Linked DNA regions of Homo sapiens: regions 1, 2, 3, 4, 5 and 6 are each linked to region 7. The links are contacts of gene promoters, found by promoter capture Hi-C in blood cells and fetal thymus (Javierre and others, 2016). All regions are on one chromosome and are shown on one strand. The core of a region is centred on a gene start or on the middle of the fragment in contact, and the rest is flanking DNA. Distances in the headings are between cores, read along the strand shown. Region 1 holds the start of SETMAR (SET and mariner transposase domain methyltransferase). Region 2 overlaps ARL8B (ARF like GTPase 8B). Region 3 has its middle 35 kb from the start of SETMAR. Region 4 has its middle 5.5 kb from the start of MIR4790. Region 5 overlaps SUMF1 (sulfatase modifying factor 1). Region 6 overlaps SUMF1 (sulfatase modifying factor 1). Region 7 holds the start of EGOT (eosinophil granule ontogeny transcript).

Region 1 (2,700 bases), core at 116-2,615, 450 kb before region 7:
AGGAAAACAACAAGAGGATACTAACAAGGAAAGGTCTGCAAGATGGAAACACATTTAGGCCAATGGGACCTCAGAAGCTGCAAGGTCAGAAGGGTTTGTGAACCCAAAATTATCTGAGACAGGTCTCAATTTAGAAAGTTTATTTTCCCAAGCTTAAGAATGCGCCCCCAACATAGCCTCAGGCAGTCCTGATGACATGTGCCCAAGGTGGTTGGGATACAGCTTACTCTCACACATTTTAGGGAGACATAATACATCAATCAATACATGTAAGATTGGTTGGATCTGGAAAGGCAGACAACGAGAAGCGGGTGAGGGGTGGCTTCCAGGTCATAGGTAGATTTAAAGATTTTCTGATTGGCAACTGGTTATTATCTAAAGACCTAAAATCAATAGAAACGAATGTCTGGGTTGCAATAAGAGGTTGTGGATACCAAATTTGATCGTGGAGATGAAGCCTCCAAGAGGTAAATTTCAGAGAACAGATTGTAAATGTTTCTTATCAGACTTAAGGTGTGTGTTGATGTTGATGCTGGCTGGCTTTTCCTGAATTCCAAAAGGAAGAAGGGCATAATGAGGCATGTTGGACCCCCCTTCCCATCATGGCCTGAACCACTTTCTCAGGTTAACCTTGGCAGAGAGGAGGGGTCCCTTCAGATGGTTTGGAGGATTGGAATTTTATTTTTGGTTTACAGTTTCAAGGAGAAGCAGGACAATCATGTCAGAGAGCTTCAGTGAGGTTGAAAATGCTCCACCGGATTCAGCAGTCTTGAGGCTATCAGAATCCTTTGGCAGGGCAGGGGTTTGGAGGGGTGAGGGTAGAGGGATGGAGAGGAGGGAAAAGGACAGGCAAAGGGGCACGGATACCTCCATCAGGGAGTGAGCATGCCCCCACACAAATTCCTTAAGGCACCCTGTGAGGCTATCGCCTTGGCACAAACCCTATCACATGTCAGTCAACTTCCCGGCAAGCCGCAGACCTTTAGAAACCTTGGTGTGCGTTTCCCCGCTCGGTTTAGAACGCACCCCTGCCTCCACTCCACAAACGTGCAGTGAGCCCTCAAAAACCTGGACAAATGACCTCACCTCGAAAGCCCCCTCTCTGATGCTCCCAGGAAAAACTAAAGCACCTCACTTTGTTTCGTCCGTACCTTACATGGTTTTGTAATTATCTGTGGTGCCTCTGGCTGAAATCAAAACGGGAGCCAGACCCAAAAAGTCAAGGAAGGGAAGCGCCTTCCAGGCCACTCCTGAGAAGAAACGAACTACAATTCCCATGAGGCGGTGGGGCCACGGGACCACAAGTCCCAGCATCCACCGCGCGGCCCAGGACTGTCAGGGTAGTGGGCGTTGCGTGAGGCGGGTAAATGTTCGCGGAAGCGGCAAAGACGACACGGCCTTGTGGGATGGCGGAGTTTAAGGAGAAGCCTGAGGCCCCGACTGAGCAGCTGGATGTCGCGTGCGGCCAGGAAAACTTGCCGGTGGGCGCGTGGCCCCCGGGGGCCGCGCCGGCGCCCTTCCAGGTAGGGGCGGGGCCAGGCGGCGCGGGAGGCGGGCGCGCGGCTCCCCCACGTGGTCTCCTCAAGCCGCCTCGCTGGGACGGCCTCCCAGTCGCGACCTTTTGTCTTCTCTTACAGCGCACCCGTTGGTGCGCGGGAATAGGTGTGCATGCCCCGGCCTGGGCCTTTTTCTGTTGACCCACGGCATCACCTTAGCAAGGGTGTTGTCCTTTTCAGTCCATTCCCTGAAGCGCAGAACCGGAGGCCTTGTGAGAACCTGGCTTTTTGTCCAGTCCTGTCCTCAGAACTCAAGGAGGCATCACGGGGGGAGTCATTTACCTCCCTGGTCTCAGGTGTCTCTCACAGGTAGGATAAGCCGTGGGGCCTATTAATGGATCGCAGCCGGTGTCGTGCATAAAAACAGCCCCTCGAGTCAGCCTTAGCTGTGGTCTCCCTCACGCTGTGGGCTCTTGGGCGAGTGTAAATTAGCTGTGGCTCAGCCTTAGAGTCTTCCAGCGTACAGTGGAACAGTACCTCTCTTCCGGAGTGCTTTGAAAATGGCAAGGAAAATACACTTTCCGGTTTGCTGTAAGAACTCAGTAAATGTTTGCTTCTATTAACTACCTCAAAGCCCTTTCTACTCTCCTTTTTCTTTTTGAGACTGAGTCTCGCTCTGTCGCCCAGGCTGGAGTGCACTGGCGCGATCTCGGCCCACCGCAACCTCCACCTCCCGGGTTCAAGCGATTCTCCTGCCTCAGCCTCCCGAGTAGCTGGGATTACAGGCATGGGCCACCACGCCCGGCTAATTTTTGTATTTTTAGTAGAGACAGGGTTTCTCCATGTTGGTCAGGCTGGTCTCGAACTCCCAACCTCAGGTGATCCGCCCGCCTCGGCCTCCCAAAATGCTGGGATTACAGGCATGAGCCACGCTCCCAGCCTCTACTGACTTTCTTATCCCTCCGACCTTGGCCTGAGCGTTACCCAAGGAATAAGGAATGACCAAAGATTTTGAAGTGGAAAGAGCGCTGGACGTGGAAGTTGGAGAGTATGGTTCGGAGCTTAGACATCTTAGCTACTTCCCAGAGCCTGAGTTTCTTCATCTGCAAAATGAAAATAATAATTTAAAAATGCATAGCCCCTTTAACATCCATTATCAACAATGAACCCTATCTGCCCTTTCTTTTTCCTAGGGGTTTTTGTG
Region 2 (2,700 bases), core at 106-2,605, 420 kb after region 7:
CTGGGAGTACAGGTGTGAGCTGCTGCGCCTGGCTGGTATCTTTCGTTTTTTTTTTTTTTTTTTTGGTAATGCTCTGTGGCCCAGGCTGGAGTGCAGTGGTGCCATCTCAGCTCACTGCAACCTCCGCCTCCTGGGTTCAAGCGATTGCATCAGCTTCCGGAGTAGCTGGGACTACAGGCAAGCCCCACCATGCCTGGCTAATTTTTTATATTTTAGTAGAGGCAGGGTTTCACCATGTTGCCCAGACTGGTCTTGAACTCCTGAGCTCAGGCAATCCACCTGCCTTGGCCTCCCAAAGTGCTGGGATTACAGGTGTGAGCCACCGCGCCCAGCTGTCTTAAGATATCTTTAGTAAAGTGTCCTTTCATTACTGGAGGTTCACCGCCTCATGTCTTCAGTCTTCCTGCTGTTAACTTTGGTTGCTGTCTGTACGTTCTTCACCATTTTCCATTTGTCTCATTTCTGAGATCTCTAGTAGAAAATGTAGGTAAGTGCTGCAAAGTGGAGTGTTGGCACTGATAGAACTTTCTAGGACAAGGTCTGCTTTAGCCTTTGGTATGCTAATGAATTTGGGAAAAGCCACATTTTTCTGCTGTTGTAGCATTCATCTCCTTGCTTACCTGTATTTTAAATGAACGGCCTATGAATAGAACATAAAACCATAAACGTTAGGGCTGGAAGTGACTGGAGATACTCTTCCAATTTCCTTTTTCTAGATAAGGAAGCTGAATCCCAAGGTCACATGACTTGCATCTAGTTAGTAAGTAGCATAATTGTTAATAAGATTCCCTGACTTTGAGAATAATCTTCTTTTCACCATCTTATTTTGCTTCAGATTTATTTTGTTCAACCAAGTTCCAGGTACACTGCCTTGCAACTTTGGCTTATAGGAGGGTAAGCATTATGACAGTGACAGCTCCATCTGCCATCACAGAATCACAGCGAGTGCCACGTGTGATCATGGCATTTAAGAAGGCAGGCATGAAAGCATACAGTAGTCCCTCTTATCCATGGTTTTGCTTTCCAGTTTCAGTTACCTATGATCAACCTCTGAAATAATAATGACTCTAAAGCAGAAGAGTACTGTGCCTAATTTATAAATTAAGCTTTATCATAGGTATGTATGTATTGGGAAAAACATAGTGTACATAGGGTTAGGTTCTATCTGTGATGTCAGGCATCCACTGGGGTTCTTGGAACGTATCCCCCAAGGATAAGGAGGGACTACTTACTTTTATTTTTCTACTCTTTCCCCCCCAAGTCAGATTAACTCATAATTATCCAGATCTTAAGAACAATGTGACTTTAGGCAAGTGACTTAAGCTGACTTTGCCTTGTTTTTCTCATCTGAGAAATGAAGATAATGCTACTCATTTCATTGGGTTGTTATAAGGATTAAACTATGCTGATGAATGTTAAGTGCTTAGTATTACGTGTTTGTTAAATTTGTTAAAATAAGTAGAATGATATACTACTAAGTAGTATTTTCTAAACATCTGTTTCCCAAACCTGTAGTCTTAATTAAGCAGCTTCTTGACAGCTCAGACATAAATTCTCAGGTATCTAGTGCCCAGTTGCCAACTGAGTGGTTATAGTTGTTCAACACAAGCTTTGAAAAGTGATGATTAAGATTGGACACTAGGAAAGAAGTAGAAAATACTTCCAGGTCCATAAAGTAATTATTGCACAAAATTCATGCATCAAAGTTAAGCACTTTATTGGCAGAAGAGTTCCAGCATTTTCCTCCTTCATGGCCTATGTTTTTTTTGAGACATGCTCTCACTCTATTGTCTAGGCTGGAGTACAGTGGCACAATCTTGTCTTAAAGTCATATCGTTCTTAAGATCTCAACCTCCACCTCCCAGGCTCAAGCAATCCTCCCACCTCAGCCTCCCTAGTAGCTGGGACTACAGGTGCATATAACCATGCCTGGCTAATTTTTGTATTTGTAGAGAGAAGGTTTTGCCGTGTCACCCAGGCTAGTCTTGAACTCCTGGGCCGCAGCAACCTGCCTGTCTCAGCCTCCCAAAGTGCTGGAATTACAAGCTTGAGCCACTATGCCTGGCCCTAATAACTCTTAGTTTGTTCAACAAATATTTATTGAATATCTTGCTCTACTCAAGAATTTTGGAGTAAAAACTCAAGGACTTGATTAGCTAATTTTCGGTTTTTGCATGTTAGCAGTAGCAGCTGAGTTACAGGAAAGTTGTTAGGGTTGGCCAAGGTAAAGAAAAGAGATAAATGAACCCCTGAGAAAGCTCGGGGGTACCCCAGTATACTGCAGCCCCCTACATTATTTTATTATGAAGTGCTGTAGTTGATGTTCATAATCATAAAACTTTACCTCCAATAGGGAGGGCCCTTGAGTGTTATCTAATTTAGTTTTCTTGTTTTGCAATAGATAAACTGACCCAGAAACATTGAGAACACATTAAATCATGTTCTATAGGTTGTTTGTGGGAAGTTAGCCAAGTGTATATTGCCTTTTAGAAAGCTTTCCATGCAAGCTAGTTGTAAAGTTTGGTACCTAAAAATTTTAGCTACTATTTTTCCTGCCTCTTCATTATGTAAAACACTTAATGATATGAAATAAATGAGCATTATCTCACGTAGATCTCTCCTCAGAGATTAAAGCCTATCACAATAAATATAATTACAATGAAAATATTTAAGAAAAATATAATCACGATTTAGCCATGT
Region 3 (2,700 bases), core at 98-2,597, 410 kb before region 7:
CTTTTAGATATTGCTGGCATTTCCCATATTCCATCTCTTATGATTCTTGTTTACATAGCCACTAGGCAGCTAAAACAACAAGAGAGCCAGCAATATGTTCTATTTCTCTGTCTCTTTTCTGTCCCTCCCTCCCTCCCTCCCTCCCTCCTTTCTTCCTTCCTTCCTTCCTTACTTCCTTCCCTCCTTCCCTCTCTCCCTCACTCCCCCTCCTTTTGTTTCTTCCTGTTTGCTGTCAACCAGCTATCCATCACCTCCATCACCCTACTGTCCCCTTGTCATTCATCTTCCTGCAGCCAGCTGCCCAGCCTCATCCTCACTGCTACACCCCTGGGAAAACACAAATTACTTCATTACTGGATGACCATCTCTACCATGTATCACTTTGCCAACTTTTGTTAGTCCTCTCGTCCAGACATATTTAATGCTCCCGGATTTATAAGGGCAGCCAGTTACAAACTGCTAATCCCACTAATTCCAACCCCACATGCCCACAACCTCTGCTCACCATGGTACCTACCTGAGCAGCCCACACTCTACCCTCCCTCCATCCCTTGACCACTTCCCTCCTCTTTCCTAACTTGCCACTACATCAAAGCATTTGTGCATAGTAGGTGGATACAGAAAAGTGCTTTCAAACAAATCTAAAACCCATTTCTCCTATCCTGCATTGAACATAATTGCATCTCTTCAATTAAAATTTTCATCTGCCCTCAAACAGTTTTACAAAGTGGGTTTGTTTTTGTTGCTTATTTTGGAAGTGTTTTCTTGCCAATCTGTATCTCCTACCCAACTCTTGAAAATAACCTTGTTTCCCTTTCCTCTCAGTAATCACCTCACCTCCCTCCCAGTAAACCCCCAATCATAGACATCCTCAACTTTTTCAAGGATAAAAAATCAAGGGCAGCTCAAAGATTAATCCTTTATCTTCAACAGACACCAGGCCTCCCCTCTATCCCAACTTGCTTTGCAGAAATTGCTTCCAAATTTTTGACTAGTTCAAAAATTAATTTTGACAACTAAATTATTGACTATTTTGAGTAGTAAGAATATTTTAGAGCTTGGCACAGTGGTGCATCCCTATAATCCTCACTACTCAGGAAGGTGAAGCAGGCGGAGGATGGCTTGAGCCCAGTCTCTGGGAGCTACAATCTGCAGGGAGCTACAATCACACCATGCACTCCAGCCTGGCAGACAAAGTGAGACCCTGTCTCTTTATTAAAAAGAAAAAAAAAAAAGATACTTTAAAGTAATATTTACTATCGTCATCCATTCAAAAAGAAAAGGCATCTTGACACAGGGAAGGTCTCTTAAAATCTCTCAGCAGTTCTTAAAATAAAGTCAGTGTGGCTTTATGAACAACATGACACCTTATCAGCACTTTGGAAGTAGTTCTGGTTGAACCACCTTGACACCAAAACAATTCATTCATTCATTCACAAACGTTTGTCAAGAATCTAGTACATGCTAAGTGGTGGGAAGTTGAGTCCCTGAGCTCATAATTCATTCAACCAATGTTTTCGAGCATCTACTGTTACATTCTGGAGAAATCAGGACGCAAAGCAATTTTCATTCTCAAAGAATTCATGGTCTCATAAGGGAAAAACCAAAACAAAATTTGAATGACAGAGTCTATGTACTAGGTCTACCTAGTACCTATGTATATCTAGTACGTAGAGTCTCATATGTATACCTAGTACAGAGTCTCTCACAGGTATACCTAGTACATATGTATACCTAGTACACAGAGTCTTTCATTGGGTCTTTGAGCCCCTATAATTTAGTGTGTGTGTGCAAATTTGGCATTCGTGTGATTGAGTTATGTCTAGCTACTCTATGAGACTGTAAGATCCTGGCGGACTGGGACCAGGTCTGTCTTTGCTCACCAGAGCCTCGCCAGTGCTGAATGGGTATTGCTGACTGAGCCAACTAATGTTAGTGTGATGAGCCTGACGTTAACTTTCCAACCAAGTTCAAACTCTTTATTTGGGGACCTTAATACCTTCCACAAACTACTTCCTCAGCAATATCCCACTACTCCCTCCTCATTCTGTGACGTAGCCCATTTCTGTGGCTCTCCTGTTCCTAATGGGCCTTAGGCTATGTTTCACTCATGCTGCTTTCCTCTCTTGGGACACCTCCCATGTCCAATCCTTCCGCCCCTCCCTTCATCACTGATTGACTTCTTCCCCATCCTCTTTAAAGTCTCAACTTGTCCCATTTTCCTTGTGAGGTATGCCCCACAGCTCAGGGGGTACCCAAGGAAGCAGTCTCTGGGAGGAAAATTGGAGCACAGGAAGATCAAGAGCTGCTGCTAGGATTCCCACCTGTGGAATGGAAGGAAAGGAAGCAGGCTGGGCAAAGGAGGAGTTGGGCTGCAATGAAATCTCAACGAAGACCTCAGCCAACCCGCAGGTAGCTCTGAAGCCAAGGCAGCTTTTTAGGGTGGCTCCATGTTGTAGCTGCGGACAGGGTCTTTAGATTTCTGCATCAACCAGTCTGTTGTAGCTGCGGACAGGGTCTTTAGATTTCTGCATCAACCAGTCAGTGGATGTAGACTGCCCCCTGGAAAGAGGTCTTGGGTAGGAAGGCTGATAGCACTCTCAGCAATTAGATGAATACATCTTTCAGTCCTTCTAGGACATCTGGGCAATGCACACAACAACTGCTGTACAAATATTCCCACATTTTTGCACCCATCCA
Region 4 (2,700 bases), core at 85-2,584, 490 kb after region 7:
GAGGTTGCAGTGAGCCGAGATGGCAGCAGTACAGTCCAGCTTTGGCTCGGCATCAGAGGGAGACTGTGGAGAGAGAGGGAGAGGGAGACCGTGGGAAGAGGGAGAGGGAGACCGTGGGGAGAGGGAGAGGGAAAGCGAGAGCGAGAACGAGAGCGAGAGCGACAGCGACTATGGTCATTTTCTAACAGTCCTTTCATGGAGTCTCCCAAAGGTTTCTGTGTCCTTTCCCAGAGATGGGCTGCATATCTATCTGTATAAAGGAAGAGTATACATAATGTTTGCAAACCCTCTACTGAACACTTCTTGATTTAAAAATCACACTTGCTTCTGATACATGTTCTCCTACATAGTAGGGAGAGCTTATCTTTTCTATTCCAAATAAGGCTTAAGAAAGTTGTGTTAGCCTACATATAGCCAAGACAATCCTAAGCAAAAAGAACAAAGCTGAAGGCATCACGTTACCTGCCTTCAAACTACACTATAAAGCTACAGTAACCAAAACAGCATGGTACTGGTACCAAAACAAATATATGGACCAATGGAACAGAACAGAGGCCTCAGAAATAACACCACACATCTACAACCATCTGATCTTTGACAAACCTGACAAAAATAAGCAGTGGGGAAAGGATTCCCAATTTAATCAATGGTGTTGGGAAAACTGGTTAGCCATGTGTAGAAAACTGACACTGGACCACTTCCTTACACCTTATACAAAAATTAACTCAAAATGGATGAAAGACTTAAACATAACACCTAAAACCATAAAAACCCTAGAAGAAAACCTAGGCAATACCATTCAGGACAGAGGCATGGGCAAAGACTTTATGACTAAAACACCAAAAGCAATGGCAACAAAAGCCAAAATTGAGAAATCGGATCTAATTAAACTAAAGAACTTCTGCACAGCAAAAGAAACTATCATTAGAGTGAACAGACAACCTGCAGAATGGGAGAAAATTTTTGCAATCTATCCATCTGACAAAGGGCTAATATCCAGAATCTACAAGGAACTTAAACAAATTCACAAGAAAAAAAAAAACAACCCCATTAAAAAGTGGGCAAAAGATATGAACAGACGCTTCTCAAAAGAAGGCATTTATGTGGCCAACAAACATGAAAAAAAGCTCATCATCACTGGTCATTAGAGAAATGCAAATCAAAATAGCAATGAGATACCATCTCATGACAGTTAGAATGGCAATCATTAGAACGTCAGGAAACAACAGATGCTGGAGAAGATGTGGGGAAATAGGAATGCTTTTACACTGTTGGTGGGAGTGTAAACTAGTTTAACCATGTGGAAGACAGTGTGGCAGTTCCTCAAGGATCTAGAACCAGAAATGCCATTTGACCCAGCAATCCCATTACTGGGTATATACCCAAAGGATTATAAATAGTTCTACTATAAAGACACATGCACATATATGTTTATTGTGGCACTATTCACAATAGCAAAGACTTGGAACCAACCCAAATATCCATCAATGATAGACTGGATTAAGAAAATGTGGCACATATACACCATGGAATACTATGCAGCCATACAAAAGGATGAGTTCATGTCCTTTGCAGGGACATGGATGAAGCTGGAAACCATCATTCTCAGCAAACTAACACAGGAACAGAAAACCAAACACTGTATGTTCTCACTCATAAGTGAGAGTTGAACAATGAGAACACATGGACACAGGGAGGGGAATATCACACACCAGGGCCTGTTGGGATGTTAGGGGACAGGGGAAGGATAGCATTAGGAGAAACACCTAATGTAGATGACAGGTTGATGGGTGCAGCAAACCACCATGGCACGTGTATACCTATGTAACAAACCTGCACATTCTGCACATGTATTCCAGAACTTAAAGTATAATAAATTAAAAAAAAAAAAAAGAAAATTGTGCTGGGATAGCACCATGGCCTCAGCATTTCTGCCCAGGGAAAAGCATTAAGAGTTATCAGATTACCCATCTCTTTGGGGGATGTACTGCAAGAAGTTCTCTCCTGTCCCCATTGCTAAGTGCACTATGCAAGCCCTGAGGCCCAGGAATGTTCAGACTATTGAAGAATCTCAACCTTTCCCTGAGGGTAGGAGTAGTGTCTGGTATAGCTTAGCATCATCTCTGATAGGCAATAATAAGAGTAAGGCCATCTTTGCTGGTTGCTGATTCTTTCTGTTCTGTAATTTCTGTTTGATAAGATCAAATGGGCTCAACGTACTGTGTAGGCCAGACAGAGAGAGAGTCCAAATCTGGTAGATTTTAGGATAAGACAGTGGGCCTTGCTTATATCACTGAGTTCTCTGGGCTTTGATAGAATTTGATAGAATTTATTGGCCTTCACCGTGTTCCTAGGTCAGGTGGTTTTCTGTCCTCTTGTTCCAGGTATAATGGCGGGGCACTAAGTTACTCCAGCACTTAGTGACTTGTGCTCATGGATTCTGTGGGTCAGGAGATCAGATAGGGTATACCCATTTGGGGACAGCTTGTCTGTGCTCTGGGTGGTTGGGGATCCTCATTTGGGAAGACTCAAAAGTTGGTGGTAACACAACCTCAGGGGGCTGGAATCCCCTGAGGGTTAATTCCTGCACATATTGTGTGCCTGGACCTGGGTGACTCAGAGAGTTTTCACCTGGCCTCTCCATGTGGCTTGACTTCCTCACAGCATGGCAATTTCAGGGTAGCTGGACTTCCTGTGTGG
Region 5 (2,700 bases), core at 69-2,568, 350 kb before region 7:
ACTATATTATACAGGGATGCAGGGTCTGAGGCATATATCTTCTTTTAACCCGAAACACATTTCACCCTAAAAATCTATAAAGCTACAGTGGGGAAGGGCTTGGGGGCCATCTTTAAGTTGACGGAGACCACTCTTCCCCCCCAAACCATTTGTGATGACTCAGGAGTACTGTGGGAAAACTCTTTATGAACATGGACTACTCTATGTGAGAAAATGTAAAGAAGAGAATTATTGAGTTGGAATATATATGTTTATTAATCTTTGCTTACAGCCAAGAGTGATGAGACAGAGCCCTATCTGAAAATATTAAGCAGCAATCACAGGCTGAGACAGTGCGGGAACATTTAGGGTTAACTGTAATTCACTGCCAAGAAAAAACAATCTGTCCAGGGAGAGCCCAGGTCATGAAAAAGATGGAAAGGAAGGCCCACGGAAGTGGAAGACAGGATGCCAACTCTGGCAGAGTCTGGCCCTCAAAACAGTGCGTAAATTTCCTTTCTTTTCTTTTCTTGTTTTTCTTTTTTTGAGACAGAGTCTCGCTCTGCCATCTAGCCTGAAGTGCAGTAGCGCGATCTCGGCTCACTGTAACCTCTGCCTCCTAGGTTCAAGTGATTCTTGTGCCTTAGCCTCCCAAGTAGCTGGGACTACAGGCCCGTGCCACCACACCCAGCTAATTTTTGTATGTTTTAGTAGGGATGGAGTTTCACCATGTTAGCCAGGCTACGTGATCCGCCCACTTCACCTTCCCAAGATGCTGGGATTACAGGCGTGAGCCACTGCACCCAGCCGAGAGCCTAAATTTCTGTTCTCGATTCATACCTCAAACCACACCAAGACAAGAGATAAAATTCCTCAAGCAACCGACCCAAACTGGGGGCCGAATTCTACCTGAATTCCCAGAGTACCCCTCCTCTGCCCAGAAAAGCTGCTCAGACATGGCCTGCCAGCTGTGGATGCAACTAAGGGAGCCAAGAAAGACAGGCTTTCAAGCCCTCACCCTGAAATTTCCCCATGGCCTTTCCAGGTGAAGAAAAGTATAGGAAAGGAATAAACAATCTTTTGATTGAAAGAAATCCAAAAAACCCGGGCTTTGGTTCTGGCTTCCTAAGCATCAGTGGAGCAAAAGTGCCTATTACCATGGAAATGATAAGAAACCACCATTAGGAATTCTGAGATTCAAATTCTCTGGAGGCAAGGACTGCGTGATGTTTATGTTTGCCACTATCACACAGCAGGTGCTCAAAAATGCTATTAAACAAATGAAAGAAAAATAACATAATCTGGTCTACTAAACAACAAGAGGCAATGCTGAAGGGGAAAGGATTTTCCAAAGGGAGATGTTCCAACCAAGAGGCGCTTAGAAACCGTAATCTGCTCTCATTTACCAAGTGCTTGCTGTGTGGTGGGCACAGTGAGTTAACCTCTCTTTTTAATCCTCAGAACAGTTCAATATTGTTGAATCTTACTATTACTCCATTTTATAGACAAGGAAACAGAAGCAAAGGATTTCACCCCCTGGCCCCAAGATAGCAGAGCTGGGATGTGGACCTAGATGGAAATCATTTTATTTTATTTTTATTATACTTTAAGTTCTAGGGTACATGTGCACAACGTGCAGTTTTGTTACATATGTATACATGTGCCATGTTGGTGTGCTGCATCCATTAACTTGTCATTTACATTAGGTATTTCTCCTAATGCTATCCCTCCCCCCTCCCCCCACCCCACAACAGGCCCTGGTGTGTGATGTTCCTCACCCGGTGTCCAAGTGTTCTCATTGTTCAACTCCCACCCATGAGTGAGAACATGAGGTGTCTGGTTTTCTGTCCTTGTGATAGTTTGCTAAGAATGATGGTTTCCAGCTTCATCCATGTCCCTACAAAGGACATGAACTCATCATTTTTCATGGCTGCACAGTATTCCATGGTGTATATGTGCCACATTTTCTTAATCTAGTTTATCACTGATGGACATTTGGGTTGGTTCCAAGTCTTTGCTCTTGTGAATAGTGCCACAATAAACATACGTGTGCATATGTCTTTATAGTAGCATGATTTATAAGCCTTTGGGTATATACCCAGTAATGGGATCGCTGGGTCAAATGGTATTTCTAGTTCTAGATCCTTGAGGAATTGCCACACTGTCTTCCACAATGGTTGAACTAGTTTACACTCGGTGGAAATCATTTTAAAAACACCCTCTTAACCATGTTACTGTCAGCTGCAGCCTCCATCACTGCCTACTTTCCAAGCAAGCAGCAGACCCAAGGGCAGTTCCCCGGATTTACTGTACCCGTGGGAATGGCTTGCTACATCCTCAGCACAACTTACAGATGAAGCACTAAGCCTACAAGGGTGACATGACTCACCTAGGGCCCCACGACATTTTAAAGCTAAATCTCAGATGGAAACCCAGGCGACTGACCTCACTTTCATCACTTAACCATGGCTCTGTTATTCAGCACAGCAGAAAGAACTTTACTGAGAATGACAAATAACCACACTAGCAAACTCTCTGCTCTTTTCTTTTAATGGTTCTGTGATAAGCCCAACCCATCCTGCTGAACTGCTGCCATCCCAATCTTATAGCATATGGCTCTCCCTTCCCAGGAGCGTGATACACTGTGAAAAGGTAACCAATAAAAGCCCCTTTCTTGAGCACACTGAAGTAAGGAAGACAGTTTACAAGTCACTCTCCAAA
Region 6 (2,700 bases), core at 201-2,700, 380 kb before region 7:
ACACTAATTCTACATAAACTCTTGCAAAAAAATTTAAAATAAGTTAATATTTAACAACTCAATCTATGAAGTCAGCAATACCCTGAAACCAAAATCAGATAAAGACATTACAAGAAAACACAGAATAAACTAGATTCAAAAATACTCATAATTTTTGCAAATCAAATCCAAAAATGTATAAAAAAGATAATACATCATGACTAAGTGGAATGATACATATCCCAGGAATGCAAGGATAGCTTAATATTTGAAAATCAATGTAATTCACCATATGAACAGATAGAAAAAGCAAAATCATATTATCATCTCAATAGATGCAGAAAAAGCTCCCAGCAAAATCTACATCCATTGCTGATAAAAAACTCTAAAAAATTAGCAATGGAAAAAAACTTTCTCAAGCTGTAAAGGGCATGCATCTATGAAAAAGCTATTGCTAATACATATCCAATTTTGAAAAACTGAATGTTTATTCCCTAAGATCAAGAATGAGGTATGAAGGTCTACTCTTACCATTCCTATTCAACCCTATACTGAAGGTTCTAGCCAATGACATACAGCAAGAAAAAGTTATAAAAGGGATCTAGATTAAAAAGGAAGAACTGTCGATATTCACAGATCATATGATCAGCTATGTAGAAAATATGATACAATTTACAAAAACATTACTAGAACTAATAAATGAGTTTTGCAAGGTTGCAAGACTCAAGATGAACATAAAAAATCAGTACCATGTAAGTGTACTTAATAAAGTATGTAGGAGTTTAAAAGATATTTTTAAAGAATCTACTGGGAAGCTTATAAAAATGTAGATTACAAATAAGCTAAAAGTTATAAAACATGAAAGTAGATACATTCATACGCATGGAATTAGGACAGTTAATGTCCTTTACTTGCTTAAAATGTTTTTTACAAGCTTCTGTTACCCCATTTATTCTTGATGAAAAATCTTCTGGTCCTCAATTACTTAGAAAGTAAATGGATTCTGAATTTAGAAAAGTGCCATATGCCAGAGACATAACTGGTGACAATTAGGATTTTGAGATACTACTGTACAAAGAGAGATTCACCTGTTTTCCATGGAAGTCTGGTTTCCTGGCAAGAAGATCCAGGTACATTTGTAGCAATAACTTCAAATAGAGAAGCAATCTGGGATTAAAGACTCTGATGTATACGTGAACATGTAAATATATTGGGAAGACCTGGGACAATGCTTTTAATTTAAAATTAAAACTAGGATTTTAGGCCGGGCACAGTGGCTGATGCCTGTAATCCCAACACTTTGGGAAGCAAAGGCAGGAAGAATTTCCTGAGCCCAAATGTTCAAGACCAGCCTAGGCAACATGGCAAGACCCCATCTCTAAAAAAAATTTAAAAATTAGCCAAGTTACTTAGGAGGCTGAGATGGGAGGATCGCTTGAGCCCAGGAGGTCGGGGCTGTAGTGAGCTGTGATTGTGCCACTGCACCTCAGTCTGGGTGAAGAGTGAGACTCTGTCTCAAAAAAAAAAAAAAAAAAAAAAAAAGATTTCATGAAAATAAATTGGTCTACATCTTATTACCAATGTAGGTCTAAAGCATCAATTGAGCTCTGCTCTATGAACTTCAACCTGAATCACTGGATTAAAAATTCTAAGAAATACAGAAGATACACATACATACAAACTCACATATATACATAAAATCTAGAGAGATTTGCTTTAGGCTAGTGATTCCCGAACTTGGCTGTATGTTTTCATCACCTGGAGAGCTTTAAAAAATGCAATGCCCAGCTCACACTGAAGAAAAATCAAATCAGAATGGGGGTGAGTGAGGAGCCAGACATCAGTATTTTATATAGATCCCAGATGATTACAATGTGGAATAAAGTTTGAGAACCACTGTTTAAGACAAAATTTGATAATGCCATCATTATCAAATTAGTAACTTAATTTGGAGCCATTATAGGTGGTTTTAAGTCTCTAACCACCTGGACTGAATAAATTCCTAGGGGAAGCTTTGAGGCAATAACAATCTGCAAAATGCCATCTCTGCACAGGGATAGAAAGCTGGAGTTCAGGAGACGTGAAAAATATATGACTCAAAGAAAAAAGGGAAGGGATGGTATTCTATTTCCAAATTCCTTATAAAGGTTATTTAGGAAACACCAAGTCACTCTAACTGATGAAGAAAGCCAGCTCAGACACTAAAATCATAGCCCAAAGAGAAGAAACACTCTCTGGGAATGATGCTTATTTCACAAGGCACACTTTGTACCTAGAACACGGGATGCTTCCATTTCAGTATATCACAATCTGCCCTCCATACATAACTCTCACCTGAATCTCAACAGAAAATCCAGAAATGTACAGGATTCTCAAATAAATTAAGGGTGTGCTTTCAGACTTACATGCTGGAAAAGTTATATACACCCACCCCTGTGCAGTTCGTGGGACAACAAAGGTCTCTCAAAGGGGCAAGATTCAATAGATGAAATTTGGTTGACAATAGGTCATTCACAACCTTTGTTACTTGTGTTACTTTTCTCCATGCTTGTAACCAAATTTGAGATGACTGTCCTCCTTTTTTTCTGGTTTCAGTGGGGTTAGGTAGGCATTTGCAGAAGTGAATGAGACATTTGGGGCTATCATTTACAATGGATCCATAAAACTGCTATCAGAACAAGAACGGCAAAACAGTTTAGTGACATGACTTACCCTATGGCA
Region 7 (2,700 bases), core at 48-2,547:
GGATGGCCATGCAGAGCACCCTTAACTTGGAAATCTATATCCTGCTGTTTAAACTTCAAGATGATTCCTATCTGGATTAAAGTCCTCAACCAGCAGGCCGAGGCAAACTCTAAAGAAAAACAAGGTCATGCTGCATTTTTTTTTGGTAAGCACAGGAATCAACAAAGAGATGTTATATAACTTCTATTTATATCCTCCTTGCTCACTATCTGCAGGCAGACAAGAGTCGCTGAGAAGGGATTTAATGAGCTCTCTGGGTTTGCTCACCTTCCTGAGCTGGTAGGAACCAGCTTGTTCTCAAATGCGTCAGTAAAGAATCTGGCTGTGGGTGGGCGGCCAGGGTAGGTGGACTGCGTTGTTGCTATGGTGTTTTTTAATTCCCCTGTCTCTCAAAGATCTCACTCCCCCCTTCCCTGACTCCTTCCTTTTGCCCCCTTCCTTTCTTTCTTTCTTTTTTTTTTTAAATCTGTAAGCTTCCTTGTTTCTCACACCTACTCATGATTCTTGGAGCTGTCTCCGGAAACAGAATATTTTCCCTCTCCTTCCTAAGTGCTCAGCTCCCCCATTGTGTAGCCCCGGGACATCAGAAGTTGTTTTCTAAGGTGTGTTTTTTCCACCCTCCCTTATTTCTTTTCCCATGATTTTTTTATTACCAATCCCTCCATGAGAGAGACCTATCCTAGGAGTCTTCCATCTTGCCTGATAGAAGTTTTCTCTGGCATATTCCAAATTCAGATTGCTCCAAAACCAGGTGAAGTCTGTTGCTAGTTGGACAGTCGGTATGGCCTGGAGGAGAAGGGCTGTTTGTATTTCCATGCATCCTCCTTTGTCCTCTTGCCCTGGGTGAAGCAATGACGTCTCTGTCTCCTCTAGTGCGTTATAAAATAGAACCGCAAGAAAACAAGAGAATGGGTTTACCCCACAATCATAATTCCTGGAGCTTGGGTAACTCCTGTTACCTGAAGGTTGCAGGTTGAAATGACTCAGCTTGCATTTAATTAAAAAAAAAAATGCTGCCCCATCAGATTCTCAGCAGGGACGACGAATGCACCTTGCTGAGAACCCTATGGCTGCCCAGGGAGTGGCCCCCTGCACCCTGGCCGGCCTGGTGGTGGCCACAGAGGCTTCTGAGATGGCTCTGTGTTGTCCATCACATTCCCACCAGAGCAGAGACACTTAGAAGATGTGAGTAGGGAGGTTAGGATGAAAAGTTCTTAGAAAAGAATATGTAGTTCCATGAGGACAGGCTGAAAAAATTTTTAAAAAGCCAAACCCACCTCTGCCTTGCCCAGAAGTTGTGCAATCCTTAATAGCAGTAGCCTGTTTGAATAATCAGAGGCAAGCTGACTTCCCTTTATTAACTTCTGTTAGAGACATCTGCATAAAATATCCCCGGATTCCAGACCAAGTAGGTAATTTTTTTTTCCCCTCTGAGTAACGGGAGGGACTTTCCCTTTGGAAATCTTCCAGCAGAGTTAACTTCATGGTTGAGACTGTTTTCTCATTATAAGGTGCCAACAGCTAGATTCCTGATGCAGGGACAGTGAAGGCGCCTCATGTACACACTTGGATCCCCTGCTTCCCTGAGAACTGACTTGATGTTCACAGTTGCCTCTGGTTCTTCTGCCTTGACCCTCCTTTTCACGGAGAAATCTATGCCCGCTCACATTTCCTGAGGTCCTCTGAGTTCCTCTTTGAAACTGTCAGAGGCTCTCTCAAAGTTTCTACCAATTTCCTATTCCTGGGTTTTAGACTTTTGATCAAGATGGCTCTGACACTGAAGGGGATAGTCCTGTAAACCCTCTGAAGTCTTCAAGCCTCGTTTTTCCCCTGGAATTCAGGACTTTAAAAATATATATATTTTATTGCTCTTCGAGGAGGATGTGTTGCAGTTGCCCTCACCATATGGTATTTGAGAAATATGTTTTTATTAGCCTCCTTGCAACACAAACCCACAAACTGTTGAGCCCAGAGCTTGTAGCTATCAAGTCTGGGGAGGGAGCCAGGTTTGGAGACGGAAGGTGCACAAATGATCATCCCTCCCGGGCTGTAGTTAATCATGCAAGCTGCTGTGTCACTGGGGCCGGGGTAGTTAACAGTTAACTCGATGGATTAAGGATCCTCAGCCAGGCTGAGCCCATCACAGAGTTACGTGCAAAAACCGGATAAGCCCGTAGAGGTGACAACACCACATCAGCTGCCTTTGGCTGGTCTGCGGTGTGCTGCATATTCCCACTTAGCAGGACTTTGAGCTTTCACATGCAGGCTTCTTCTGGCCATAAAGTTATACTTCAGCTGCCATGGATGCAAAGCTTGGCTTGAGTGTTTCGGAATTGCACCTCCTTCAGGATTATTGTTCATTCATTAATATAGTAAATTTTTTAAAAAGAGAGAAGAGGCCTTACTGTGTTGACCAAGCTGGCCTTGAACTCCTGGGCTGAAGAGATCTTTCTGTCTCAGCCTCCGGAGTAGCTAGAACTACTGGCTTGTGTCACCACAGCCGGCTTAATATAGCAGATGTTTACTTACTGAGCACTCCCTGGGTGTCAGGTGCTATACACATTGGCGTCAATACAGTCAGGGATGAGACCAACATAGCCCCTGCCCTCCAGGAGCTTACAGTCTTGTGGGAGACAGAGCTAGGAAATCAGCTCATCATCAGCTAAATCAGAGCTTCAGAGAAGTGTGATGGGGAAGCAA

Evidence for each region. Contacts are between HindIII fragments. The CHiCAGO score rates a contact against its expected background, and 5 or more counts as called.
Region 1: a contact is called between the fragment with the promoter of SETMAR here and the fragment with the promoter of EGOT in region 7, in 13 of 17 cell types (neutrophils, naive B cells, total B cells and 10 more). The highest score is 13.7, in neutrophils.
Region 2: a fragment that was not itself captured here is called in contact with the fragment with the promoter of EGOT in region 7 in 4 of 17 cell types (total CD8 T cells, activated CD4 T cells, endothelial precursors and 1 more); the score reaches 7.1 in total CD8 T cells.
Region 3: a contact is called between a fragment that was not itself captured here and the fragment with the promoter of EGOT in region 7, in 4 of 17 cell types (total B cells, naive B cells, naive CD8 T cells and 1 more). The highest score is 6.8, in total B cells.
Region 4: a fragment that was not itself captured here is called in contact with the fragment with the promoter of EGOT in region 7 in 1 of 17 cell types (activated CD4 T cells); the score reaches 5.1 in activated CD4 T cells.
Region 5: a contact is called between a fragment that was not itself captured here and the fragment with the promoter of EGOT in region 7, in 1 of 17 cell types (total B cells). The highest score is 5.0, in total B cells.
Region 6: a contact is called between a fragment that was not itself captured here and the fragment with the promoter of EGOT in region 7, in 3 of 17 cell types (naive B cells, total B cells and activated CD4 T cells). The highest score is 10.0, in naive B cells.

Annotation. Positions count from the first base shown.
Region 1 is chr3:4,302,004-4,304,703 of GRCh38, forward strand. It overlaps SETMAR (SET and mariner transposase domain methyltransferase), which reads left to right and starts at 1,366. Exons shown (of 3, transcript NM_006515.4): 1 at 1,366-1,523. The coding sequence starts at 1,368. It also overlaps a transcript of SUMF1 not described here. RefSeq lists enhancers at 963-1,705, 1,734-1,803 and a silencer at 1,304-1,643. The HindIII fragment of the contact is 4,274 bases long and covers 151-2,700 here.
Region 2 is chr3:5,166,304-5,169,003 of GRCh38, forward strand. The region is part of intron 1 of ARL8B (ARF like GTPase 8B); the gene reads left to right. Among named protein-coding and RNA genes, the nearest start is that of EDEM1, 20 kb to the right of the region's middle. The HindIII fragment of the contact is 503 bases long and covers 1,105-1,607 here.
Region 3 is chr3:4,337,063-4,339,762 of GRCh38, forward strand. It overlaps a transcript of SUMF1 not described here. Among named protein-coding and RNA genes, the nearest start is that of SETMAR, 35 kb to the left of the region's middle. The HindIII fragment of the contact is 7,610 bases long and covers 1-2,700 here.
Region 4 is chr3:5,243,402-5,246,101 of GRCh38, forward strand. No RefSeq gene overlaps it. Among named protein-coding and RNA genes, the nearest start is that of MIR4790, 5.5 kb to the right of the region's middle. The HindIII fragment of the contact is 7,686 bases long and covers 1-2,700 here.
Region 5 is chr3:4,399,251-4,401,950 of GRCh38, forward strand. All of the region lies in intron 7 of SUMF1 (sulfatase modifying factor 1), which reads right to left. Among named protein-coding and RNA genes, the nearest start is that of SUMF1, 67 kb to the right of the region's middle. RefSeq lists a silencer at 315-609. The HindIII fragment of the contact is 2,792 bases long and covers 1-2,700 here.
Region 6 is chr3:4,373,639-4,376,338 of GRCh38, forward strand. SUMF1 (sulfatase modifying factor 1) reads right to left here. Exons shown (of 9, transcript NM_182760.4): 8 at 2,692-2,700. Among named protein-coding and RNA genes, the nearest start is that of SETMAR, 72 kb to the left of the region's middle. RefSeq lists enhancers at 2,018-2,518, 2,519-2,700. The HindIII fragment of the contact is 1,078 bases long and covers 912-1,989 here.
Region 7 is chr3:4,750,293-4,752,992 of GRCh38, forward strand. EGOT (eosinophil granule ontogeny transcript) reads right to left here and starts at 1,298. Exons shown (of 2, transcript NR_004428.1): 1 at 654-1,298. The region is part of intron 44 of ITPR1 (inositol 1,4,5-trisphosphate receptor type 1); the gene reads left to right. The HindIII fragment of the contact is 1,839 bases long and covers 472-2,310 here.